Regions from separate parts of the Homo sapiens genome. Here all the other regions are linked to region 1. The links are contacts of gene promoters, found by promoter capture Hi-C in blood cells and fetal thymus (Javierre and others, 2016). All regions are on one chromosome and are shown on one strand. Each heading gives the region's core, a stretch centred on a gene start or on the middle of the fragment in contact. The rest is flanking DNA. Distances are from core to core; before and after follow the strand shown.

Evidence for each region. The method cuts DNA at HindIII sites, captures the fragments that hold promoters and counts their contacts. A CHiCAGO score of 5 or more calls a contact.
Region 2: a contact is called between a fragment that was not itself captured here and the fragment with the promoter of MYBPC3 in region 1, in 1 of 17 cell types (M2 macrophages). The highest score is 5.8, in M2 macrophages.
Region 3: a fragment that was not itself captured here is called in contact with the fragment with the promoter of MYBPC3 in region 1 in 1 of 17 cell types (erythroblasts); the score reaches 5.9 in erythroblasts.

Annotation. Positions count from the first base shown.
Region 1 is chr11:47,350,613-47,354,596 of GRCh38, forward strand. MYBPC3 (myosin binding protein C3) reads right to left here and starts at 2,090. Exons shown (of 35, transcript NM_000256.3): 1 at 2,011-2,090; 2 at 627-893; 3 at 1-3. The coding sequence starts at 2,035. RefSeq lists enhancers at 1-733, 734-1,714. The HindIII fragment of the contact is 20,166 bases long and covers 1-3,984 here.
Region 2 is chr11:47,300,885-47,304,868 of GRCh38, forward strand. The region is part of intron 24 of MADD (MAP kinase activating death domain); the gene reads left to right. Among named protein-coding and RNA genes, the nearest start is that of MADD-AS1, 31 kb to the left of the region's middle. The HindIII fragment of the contact is 2,133 bases long and covers 689-2,821 here.
Region 3 is chr11:47,316,852-47,320,835 of GRCh38, forward strand. The region is part of intron 30 of MADD (MAP kinase activating death domain); the gene reads left to right. Among named protein-coding and RNA genes, the nearest start is that of MYBPC3, 34 kb to the right of the region's middle. The HindIII fragment of the contact is 3,885 bases long and covers 300-3,984 here.

The DNA of each region.
Region 1 (3,984 bases), core at 840-3,339:
TCTCTGGAGGGGATCAGATGGGAGTCGTGGTGCAGCCACTAACCAGAGACCCCTCCACCCTCTCTCTCCTGAGCATTGGACCCATGAGCCCGCTGTGGATGAGGAAAGTCTGCCATGGCTGTCCTCCCGCTGCCTGGGCCCCTCAGAGGCAGCTCATGCTGAGCTGGAGAGCCAGCCTGCCTCTCACATTCTCCTCCCCGTCCCAGGCCATCAGTTCCCATGTCCTCTGCATCTGCCCTGAACAGCTCCAGGTCCATCCCTGCTCTGCCCCAGCCTTAGAGCAGCCCCTCAGACTGGGCTGCACTCCCCTCATCCACAGCTCCTGGGGCTTCCCGGCCGTCTGTGCAGGGTCATCTCCCCAGGGAGGTCTGCAGGGGGAGAGTGGGGTTGTGTCTTGTTCATCTCTCCCACCTACCCCATGGCTGGAACAAGCCAGGATGGCACATGGGGGTACTCAGAGAGGTCATGTGCAGAAAAGGGGGAAAGGGCGTTCCTGGCGGGGGGCACAGCCACAGCAAAGGCAAGAAAGTGTGAAAGCACCTCCTGTTCCCTGGATGGATGGAGAGTCGCTGGGCTGCCCCTCCCCCAGCAGCCCAAACCTCAGGGAAGGCTGATCAGGATCTTACCTGCCTCTATGACCTTGAGGTCGAACTTGACCTTGGAGGAGCCAGCAATGACTGCGTAAGATCCCTGGTCGGCAGGGCCCACTTCCCGCACTGTCAGCGTATGCCGTGTGCCCTCTGTGGCCAGGCCGTACTTGTTGCTGGCGCTGATGTCACTGCCTCCGCGCTGCCAGCGCACCTTCACTCCTGCCCGCTCTGTCTCGGCCTCGAACACGGCAGGGCTGCCTGCGGCCACTTCCACTGACCGTGGCTTCTTGCTAAAAGCTGAGACTGAAGGGCCAGGTGGAGGCTACAGCGGCCCCTGGTTGGAGCGTGCACCCCGCCCCTGCAGCCCCTCTCAGTAAATACTGTGCTAGCACTTTCTATGCATCCCCTCACGTAATACTCTACCAGTTCTCTGAGGTAGTTGCAGTTATTCTGTTCATTTCTCAGAGGAGGACACTGAGGCTCAGAGAAGCTAAGCGGCTCCTCCAAGATCACACAGCTAGCAGTCGGGAGAGCCAGGGCTGTGGTCCTGACCTCCCAACAAGACTTTTTCTGCATGTGTCCACTTTCCCTGCTTGGAGACACCCGTGATGAACCCAGCTCCCTTTCCCCCAACCATTTCGGGCCCTTGGCAGGGGGCGGGGAAGTCTGCCTACTTGGAATGTGGCCAAATTTGTCCTCCAAGGACCTCAGGCTGGGTATCAGCAACTGAGATAAAGCTGGCCTGGGAGGGCGCTGGGGGATGGGGACCTGGATCTCTGCCCTGGACAACCTTCATAAGGGCACAGCCCAGGCCCAGGTCCCTGGGCTGTGATTTTCCCTGCCCTTGGCCTGGGTTCAGGGGCTCCTGACTGTCCTCTCTCAGAGAAGAGGGGCTGTGTCACCCTCAACATGGGGGCCACACCGTACAGGCTCATGAAGCAGATAATGTCACAGCCAGGAGGAACCAACCCAATGCCACCACCACCCCCGGCACCCCAGGTTGGGAGACTGAGACCCATAGTGGGTAGAGACTGGTCTGAAGGCATGCCGTGAGCCTGGCTCAGCTCCATACTAAACGTGGGCTCTGTCCGCGGGGAACCTTGCTGTGGAAGGTGAAGGCAATGGGACAGGGAAGGGGTCCCTTTGCATTCTCAGAATGGGTTGACCCCGGGTGCTTCCTGTCTTGGCTGTGTCCCCTCTCTGCGTCCCTGACCTTGGGTTTACCTTCACCTCTCATCAGAGGGATGGGAAAAAGAAACCGAGAATCAAAAAAGGACCCTGGAGGACTGGCTGCCCCTGTCCTGGGGCTCAGAGGCCACGTCCTCGTCAACCCCCTCAAGAACTCCCTCCTAGCCCTGCTCCCCAATTGTAGACACCCCCCTGCTCCCACACTTAGACCCAACCCCAGTCCTAAAGCTACCTGGCTTCTTCCCCGGCTCAGGCATCCTGAGAGACGTCACACCAGGCACGAAGCAGGCACAGGTCACCCAAAGAGGGACTGAGTGGGGTCCTGTCCTTCCCACTATATATGGGGACCTCCCCCCTCCCCAGGCTCTGCTTATCTGCCTCCTGTCCAGCCACCTGCTAAATATAGATGAATTCCAGAGAGCTGAGGTCTCTCCAGGGAGAAGGTAGGGCCACATTGTCCCTGGCTGGCTCCTGTCCCTTCCCCCCTCACCCCCCGCAGCACAATTCTGCCTCCCCAACCTTTGGCAAGCCTCAGGGGTACTCCAAGCCCCGTGTGTGTCCCTCTTACAGCAAATTGTACGGTGGGAGCATGCTGGGCCCATAACCCTAAGGCTAACGGGTCAGGAGCATCCTCGCAGGCAGTTCAGGCAGTGGTCATGTCCACAGACCCTGGGGCCAGGGTGTCTCTGAGTCCTAGCACTGCCATCTCTTTAATCTCAAAGCACCTGGTTTCCTCATCTGTAAAGCGGGGTGGGTGAAAGCAGCACCCACTGCACAGGATTGTCACACGTATGAAGTGGGTTTATAATTTTAAAAATGTTAGGCCGGGTGTGGTGGCTCATCTGTAATCCCAGCACTTTGGGAGGCCGAGGCAGGCAGATTATTTGAGGCCAGGAGTTTGAGACCAGCCTGGGCAACATGGCAAAACCCCATCTCTACTAAAAAAATAAAAAATAAAATAAATACACACACACACACAAATTAGCCAGGTGTGGTGGTGTGGACCTGTAGTATCAGCTACCCAGGAGGCTGAGGTGGGAGGATCGCTTGAGTCCAAGGAGTTCCGGGCTGCAGTGAGCCAAAATCGCACCACTGCACTGCAGCCTGGGTGACAGAGTGATAATAATAATAAAAATATTATTTATTATTATTTTTTATTATTAATATCTCAAAGAATAATAATAAAAAAATAAAAATGGGCTGGGCGAAGTGGCTCACACCTGTAATCCCAGCACTTTGGGAGGCTGAGGCGGGCAGATCACTTGAGCTCAGGAGTTCGAGACCAGCCTGGGCAACATGATGAAACCCCATCTGTACAAAAAATACAAAAATCAGTCAGGCATGTGACGCACACCTGTAGTCCCAGATGCTCGGGAGGCTGAGGCAGGAGAATCACTTGAGCCCGGGGGGTCAGGGCTGCAGTGAGCCATGTTCGTGCCACTGCACTCCAGCCTGGGCAACAAAGTAAGACCCTGTCTCAAAAAAAAAAAAATAAAAATAGAAGAATGAAGACACAACACCATTTTGCCTTCTCTTGTGGCCCTGCAGTAGGACTAGGGAGCTGCAGGGTTGGGCTGCAGTGAGCCCTCTGGGGTTGAGGAGGTGTGGGGCGGGTATTTGTCCCTACGATAATGGCCCCAGAATCTGGGTTCCCTAAGGTCTTTGACAGCGTTGGGAAGTCCCTCACTCCCAGGCTGTCTACTGCCACTACTTGCTACCGTCTGGAGGAAAACACAGGACTTACAGGCTTCTCCGCTCAGCTTGGTCTGTTTCTCCCCTGCTGTGGCTAGGAGCTAGAAAGCAAATAGAACCTGGGGGTCCCACCAGGGATTCACTTGGGTCTAAAGTCCTGCTGGGCGTGCAGCTCGTGAGAACCCTTTGCGGCCCACAGGAGCTTTGGGGCTTAATTCCTGTCCTCGGAATGCTGAAGAGTATCCTCTTCCAGATAAGCAAGGCCTCCCACTCCATGTTGACGTGTCGGGACAGACCTGGAGTGTGATCCAACTTGGCCACTCAACGGCTGTGACCTTGGGGAAATAATTTGACCTCTACAAGCCTCAGTTTCCCATTCTATAAAATGGAGTGATATTAGACTCCACATCTCAAGGTTGGCAGATACTAATTGACCAGAATATCAAATGTTGTTGCTGGTCATGGTCATCATCATCATCATCATCATCATCATGAGTTCAAACCTCATCAAGGC
Region 2 (3,984 bases), core at 505-3,004, 50 kb before region 1:
GTCTATGTCTAAATTTATCCGTTTCTAATTTGTTGGCATATAGTTATAGTCTCCAGTGATTTTTTGTTTTTCTGTGATGTCAATTGTAATGTTTACTTTTTTGTTTTTGGTGTTTTCTTGGTGGAGGTCTTTTCACTCTCTCTCTTTTTTTTTTTTTGGTTAGTCTAGCTCTAATGGTTTGTGGATTTTGTTTATCTTTACAAAGATGAACTTTTCATTTTGTTGATTATTAATTTATTTATTTTGAGATGGAGTTTTGCTCTTGTTGCCCAGGCTGGAGTGCAGTGGTGCAATCTTGGCTCACTGCAGTCTCCACCTCCCAGGTTCAAGTGATTCTTCTGCCTCAGCTTCCCAAGTAGCTGAGATTACAGGTGCCCACCACCACAACCGGCTAAATTTTTTTTTGTATTTTTAGTAGAGATGGGGTTTTGCCATGTTGGCCAGGCTGGTCTCAAACTCCTGGCCTAAGGTGATCCACCCATCTCAGCCTCCCAAAATGCTGGGATTATAGGCATGAGCCACCACGCCCGGCCTATTTTTTTAAGTCTCAAGTTTTATTTCTGCTCTGATCTTGATTATTTCTTCTAATTTTGGGTTTGGTTTGTTCTTGCTTTCACAATTCTTTGAGCTGCATCATTAAGTTGATTTGAAATCTTCCTACTTTTTTGATGTGACGTTTATTGCTATAAGCTTCTTTCTTAATACTGCTTTTGGTGTATCCCATAGGTTTTGGTATGCTGTGTTTTTATGTTCATTTGTGTGAAGAAATTTTTAAATTTCCTTCTTAATTTCTTTGTTGACCCATTGGTCACTCAGGAGCATATTGTTTAATTTCCATTTATTTGTATGATTTTAAAAGTTTCTTGTTATTTATTTCTAATTTTCAGAGCACAGTGTTCCTTTGTGGTCTGAAAAGATACTTGCTGTGATTTCAGTTTTCTTAAATTTCTCATTATACTTATTTTGTGGCCTCATATGTGGTCTGTCCTAGAGAATGTTCTGGGTGTTGATGAAAAGAATGTGTATTCTACACCTGTTGGATGGAATGTTCTGTAAATGTCTGTTAGGTCCATTTGGTCTAAAATGCAATCTAAATGTAAAATGTAGTATAAATCCGGTATTTCTGTGTTGATTTTCTGTCTAGATGATCTGTCCAATGCTGAGAGTGGGGTATTGAAGTCCCCAACTGTTATTGTATTGGTGTGTATCTCTCCCTTTAGATCTAATAATACTTGCTTTATATAGCTGTTCTGTGTTGAATGCATATATATTTGCAATTGTTATATCCTCTTATTGTTATTACATAATTACTTTCTTTGTCTCTTTTTAGGTTTTTTTTGTGTGTGTGAGACAGAGTCTCACTCTGTCGCCCAGGCTGGAGTGCAGTGGCGCAATCTCCGCTCACTGCAACCTCCACCTCCTGGGTTCAAGCGATTCTCCTGCCTCAGCCTCCCAAGTAGCTGGGACTACAGGTGTCTGCTGCCATGCCCAGCTAATTTTTGTATTTTTAGTAAAGACAGGGTTTCACCATGTTGGCCAGGCTGGTCTCAAACTCCTGACCTTGTGATCTGCCCGCTTCGGCCTCCCAAAGTGCTGGGATTACAGGCGTGAGCCACCGTGCTCAGCCTCTTTTTAGTTTTTGACATAAAGTCTGTTTTATCTGATATAATTATAGCTACTCTTGCTTGCTTTTGGTTTCTATTTGTGTGAAATATCTTTCTCCATCCCTTCACTTTCAGTCTGTATGTGTCTTTGCTAGTGAAATGAGTTTCTTGTAGGCAGCATATAGTTAGGTCAAGTATTTTTTTTTTTTAATCCATTCAGCCAGTCTACCCCTTTTAAGTGAGGGAATTTAATCTATTTACATTCAAGGTTGTTATTGATAGTGTGGACTTACTTCTGTTGTTTTGTTAATTGTTTTCTGATTATTTTGTATGTCCTTTGTTTCTTCCTCTCATTTATCATTATGGTTTGGTGGTTTTCTGTAGAGATAAGGTTTGATTCTTTTCTTTTTCTCCTTTGTGTGTCTGTTCTACAAGTGGATTTCATACTTTTGTGTATTTTCATGATAGTAATTATCATCTTTTTACTTCCAGATGTAGGACTCCCTTGAGCATGTCTTGTAAGGGTGTGATGACTTCCTCATTTTTTTTTTCATGTCTGGGAAAGACTTAGTTTATCCTTCATTTCTGAAGCACAACTTTGCTGGGTATAGTATTCTTGACTGAGATTCTTTTTCTTGCAGCGCTTTGAATATATCATCCCATTCTCTACTGGCTTGTAAAGTTTCTGCAGAGAAATCTGTTAGTTTAATAGAGATTCCCTTAAATGTGACTTAACACTTTTCTCTTGCTGTTTTTTTTTTTTTTTTTTTTGAGACGGAGTCTCACTCTGTCACCCAGGCTGGAGTACAGTGGTGCAATCTCGGCTCACTGCAAGCTCCGCCTCCTGGGTTCACACCATTCTACCTCAGCCTCCTGAGTAGCTAGGACTAAGGTGCCTGCTACCATGCCTGGCTAATTTTTATGTATTTTTAGTAGAGACGGGGTTTCACCATGTTAGCCAGGATGGTCTCGATCTCCTGACCTCGTGATCTGCCTGCCTCGGCCTCCCAAAGTGCTGGGATTACAGGCGTGAGCCACTGCACCCGGCCTTCTCTGGCTGTTTTTAGAATTCTCTCTTTGACTTTTGACAATTTGACTGTAATGTACCTTGGAGAGGCCTTTTTTTTTTTTTTTTTTGAGACAGTCTCACTCTGTCACCCAGGCTGGAGTGTAGTAGTGTGATCTCAGCTCACTGCAACCTGCGCCGCTTGGGTTCAAGCTTTTCTCCTGCCTCAGCTTCCTGAGTAGCTGGGATTACAGGCATGCACCACCACGCTCGGCTAATTTTTTTGTATTTTTAGTAGAGATAGGATTTCACCGTGTTGGTCAGGCTGGTCTCGAACTCCTGACTTCAAATGATCTGCCCGCCTTGGCCTCCCAAAGTGCTGGGATTACAGGCGTGAGCCACCGCATCTGGCTGGAGAGGACTTTTTTGGGTTGAATCTGTTTGGGGACTTTTGAGCTTCCTGGATCTGGCTGTCCATCTCTCTCCCCAGACTTGGGAAGTTTTCAGCTATTATTTCATTAAATAAGTTTTTTATGCCTTTCCCCTTCTCTCTTTGGAAATCCAATAATATGAATATTTGTTTACTTAATGAGATCCCCTAAGTGTTGTAGACCTTCTTGACTGTTTTCCATTCTAACTTTTTTCCCTCTGACTAATTTCGAATGACTTATCTTCAAATATAGAGTCATTCTTCTGCTTGATCAAGTCTGCTGTTGTAGTTCTCTATTGTATTTTTTCCTTTTTTTTTTTTTTGAGACGGAGTTTCGCTCTTGTTGCCTAGGCTGGAATGCAATGGCACTATCTCGGCTCACCGCAACCTCTGACTCGTGGGTTAAAGCAATTCTCCTGCCTCAGCCTCCCAAGTAGCTGGGATTACAGGCATGCGCCACCACACCTGGCTAATTTTGTATTTTTTAATAGGGACGGGGTTTCTCCATGTTGCTTCGGCTGGCCTTGAGCTCCCAACCTCAGGCGATCCACCCACCTCACCTCCCAAAGTGTTGGGATTACAGGTGTGAGCCCCCACGCCTGGCCCTCTATTGTATTTTTTAAACTTTGTTCATTGAATTATTCAGCTGCAAGATTTCTGTTTTTTTGTTATGATTTTTATCTCTTTGTTGAATTTCTAATTCATATCATGAACTGTTCTTCTGATTTTGTTGAATCATCTATCTGTATTTTCTTGTATCTCATTGCATTTCCTTAAGATCATTACTTTTAATTTATTTTCTGGCAATTAATTGATTTCCTTTTCATTGGGGTCTATTACCAAAGAGTTATTATGTTCCTGTGGTGGAGTCATATGTCCTTGTTTTTTTCATGTTTCTTATGTCTCTGTGTTGATACCCCACATCTGGCAGAACAGTCACTTCT
Region 3 (3,984 bases), core at 992-3,491, 34 kb before region 1:
TCCTGCCTCAGCTGCCTGAGTAGCTGGGATTACAGTCGCCCACCACCATGCCCAGATAATTTTTCTATTTTTAGTAGAGACGGGGCTTCACCATATTGGCCAGGCTGGTCTCAAACTCCTGACCTCAAGTGATCTGCCCACCTTAGCCTCACAAAGTGCTGGGATTATAGGCGTGAGCCACCCCGCCTGGCCTATTTTTCTCCTTTCTTTCAGAAAGATAGCACATCTTATCCATTGCTTTATCCCTTGCTTTTTTCATTTAACATTGTCCTGGTCCTCTTCTGTATCAGTACCAAGAAAGCTTTCCCATTGGTTTTATGGCTACATGTATTCCACTGTGTGACTGTGCCTTAATTTATTTAACCAGTCAGTACATATGGATCCTTGGGTTGCTTCCAAATTTGCTGTTACTGATAGTCATACTGTGAATGATGCTGTGCCTGCTTCATTTCATACATGTGCAAGTGTGTCTAAGGATTCCCAGAAATGAGATTGCTGGGTCAGAGGGACAATGCATTTGTAATTTTGGTTGATATAATTCTTAAGTGTCTCATAACACGTAATACCCCCTTTGCCATTAATTTTGTTGAAGAAATTGGATCGTTTGCCCTGTGGAGTCTCCTACATTCTAGATTTTTTGCTGATTGTGTCTCCTTTGTATTAGCGTGTTTCCTGTCACATATTTCTCATAGACTGGTAGTTCAGTTTAGAGGTTTGATCACTTTCAGATTCACTCTTTTGGGAAGAATACTTAATGAGTGGTGCTATACGCTTCCTATTGCCTCATATGGTTGTCCCTCTCTTACACATCAGTGGGCTCAGATGTGGGCAACCTGATCTGCCCACCAGAAAGTTCCTCATTTGTCTTCTGATTTTGCCTATGGTATTTTTTGACACACATAAATTTTTTATTTGTATATAACTTTTTTTTTTTTTTGAGACAGAGTCTCTCTCTATCGCCCAGGCTGGATGCAGTGGCATGATCTCGGCTCACTGCAACCTATACCTCCCGGGTTCAAGCAGTTCTCCTGCCTCAGCCTCCCAAGTAGCTGGGTTTACAGGTGCCTGCCACCACACCCGGCTAATTTTTGTGTTTTTAGTAGAGATGGGGTTTTACCATGTTGGCCAGGGTGGTCTCGCACTCCTGACCTCAAGTGATCCACCCACCTCGGCCTCCCAAAGTGCTGGGATTACAGGTGTGAGCCATCACGCCTGGCTACTTTTATATAATTAAATTAATCAATAGTTTCTTTTACGGCTTCTGGATTTTGAGGCATGGTTAGAAAAAGCCTTACTCTCCAGGATTATAAAGGAAATTGGCCGTGTTTTCTTCATTTCTGTGTTTTTAATTCTGAAACAGACCTAAGTAATTTTAAGGACCAAATACAACTCCTATATATAAAGTAGTAAAATTTTGCCTATGTTATCTGTTCCCCTGTGGTTTAGCTGAATTTGAATATCACATTCACAGTTTTTTTGAACAGGTGGTCTACCAAACGCAAGAAGGGCTTACCCTGAAGCAGAAACATACATGTCAGTGTAGCCAAGAAGGAGTCATTTTCATGTCACCCTTTAAAGTGTTAGAATTTGGCTAGTTGCCTCTCAGAGCCTAGGGCTGACTTAGGACATCTGCACCACAGCAGAAGTGGCACATGACTCTTGCCCTTTTCTTTTCCTTTTAAAAAAAATATCTCCAGCAGATTCCTTGAACTACTCTTACTCTCACCACCGTACAAAGGGAGCCTCATGCTAAGTCTCTGGAGTGTGGGACTGGACCCATTACCCAAATAGATGCCTCTTCCTCGAAGTGGTGCCATGCCAGGGAAGAGTGCACCATGGTCACTGTGCCATCACCTGGCTCCTGTGAGGCTATTTGATTTAGCCTTTCTCAGAGCATAGCCTGCTTTTTGCATGATCAACTGGACAGCAGTTTGGGAATTTTTTTTTTTTTTTTTTTTTTTTTTTTTTTTTTTTGAGACAGAGTCTCACTCTGTTGCCCAGGCTGAAGTGCAGTGGTACAATCTTGGTTCACTGCAACCTCCACTTCCCAGGTTCAAGCGATTCTCCTGCCTCAGCCTCCTGAGTAGCTGGGACTACAGGCACATGCCATCATGTCTGGCTAATTTTTGTATTTGTAGTAGAGACGGGGTTTCACCATTTTGGCCAAGCTGGTCTCGAACTCCTGACCTCAAGTGATCTGCCCACCTCAGCCTCCCAAAGTGCTGGGATTACAGGTGTGAGCTGCCACACCTGGCCAAGGAAAATATATATATATATATAATTTTTTTTTTTTTTTTGGAGGTGGAGTCTTGCTCTGTCACCCAGGCTGGAGTGCAGTGGCACAATCTTGGCTCACTGCAACATCCACCCACCGACTTCAAGAGATTCTCCTACCTCAGACTCCCGAGTAGCTGGGACTACAGGCACGCATCACCACGCTTGGCTAATTTTTGGTATTTTTAGCAGAGATGGGGTTTTGCCATGTTGGCCAGGATGGTCTTGAACTCCTGACCTTAAGTGATCCGTCTGCCTTGGCCTCCCAAAATGCTAGGATTACAGGTGTGAGCCACCATACCCAGCCAAAGATTTTTAAAAATTGTCTTTGTTGCCCTTTTTTTAGTTACAGAAGTAAAACAGTATATGCTGTAAATGTTTCAAACCGTGCCAAAGTTAAAAAATAATTAAAAGTTTTACTCACTGCCTTTCAATCCTTTGTCCCAGAGGTAACCAGTAATGAAGAGTTTTATGTGACTCCTTTCAGATTATTGAAAATGCATATTTGTGCAAATATAATTTATTTATATGGAATTTTGTTTTTGCACTTACGAAAGTGGTATCAAATTACAAATATTGGGCTGGGCATGGTGGCTCACATGAGCCTGTAATCCCAGCACATTGGGAGGCCGAGGCAGGTGGATAACTTGAGGTCAGGAGTTCCAGACAAGCCTAGCCAACGTGGTGACACCCTGTTTCTACTAAAAATACAAAAATTAGCCGGGCGTGTTGGGCAGGCGCCTGCAATCCCAGCTACATGGGAGGCTGAGGCAGGAGAATCGCTTGAACCCGGAGGCGGAGGTTGCAGTGAGCCGAGATCATGCCACTGCTCTCCAGCCTGGGTGACAAAGCGAGACTCCATCGCAAAAAAAAAAAAAAAAAAAAAATTACAAATATTGTTAAATAATTTGCTTTTTTCACTTAATGATATACCTTTCCGTGTCTTTTTTTTTTTTTCTTTAATGGATGCTTAGCCATTAGATGTCGTATGGTGTACCATAATTGGTTTAACTAGTGCCTCTCACTATTTTTTAAAAAAATATTACTCATGCTGGGTGTGGTGGCTCACGCCTGTAATCCCAGCACTTTGGGAGGCCAAGGTGGGTGGATCACGAGGTCAAGAGTTCAAGATCAGCCTGGCCAAGATGGTGAAACCCTGCCTCTACTAAAAATACAAAAAATTAGCCAGGCGAGGTGGTGGGTGCTTGTAATCCCAGTTACTTGGGAGGCTGAGGCAGAGAATTGTTTGAACCTGGGAGGCGGAGGTTGCAGTGAGCCGAGATTGCACCACTTCACTCCAGCCTGGGCGACAGAGCAAGACTCCGTCTCAAAAAAAAAATTTAAAAAAATGAAATATATATTTATATATTACTCATTAGGCCAAGCATGTTGGCTCACGCCTGTAATCCCAGTACTTTGGGAGGCTGAGGCAGGAGGATTGCTTGAGCCCAGAGTTTGAGACCAGCCTGGGCAACATAGGGAGACCCTGTCTCTATAAAAAATTTAAAAATTAGTCATACATGTGGTGATGTATGCCTGTGGTACCAGCTACTGGGGAGGCTGAGGTGGGAGGTTCGCTTGAGCCCAGGAGGTCAAAACCAGCCTGGGCAACATAGGGAAACCCCGTCTCCACAAAAAATTTTAAAATAAGCTAGGCATGCTAGTGCATGCCTATGGTCCTAGCTACTGGGGAGGCTAAGTTGGGAGGAT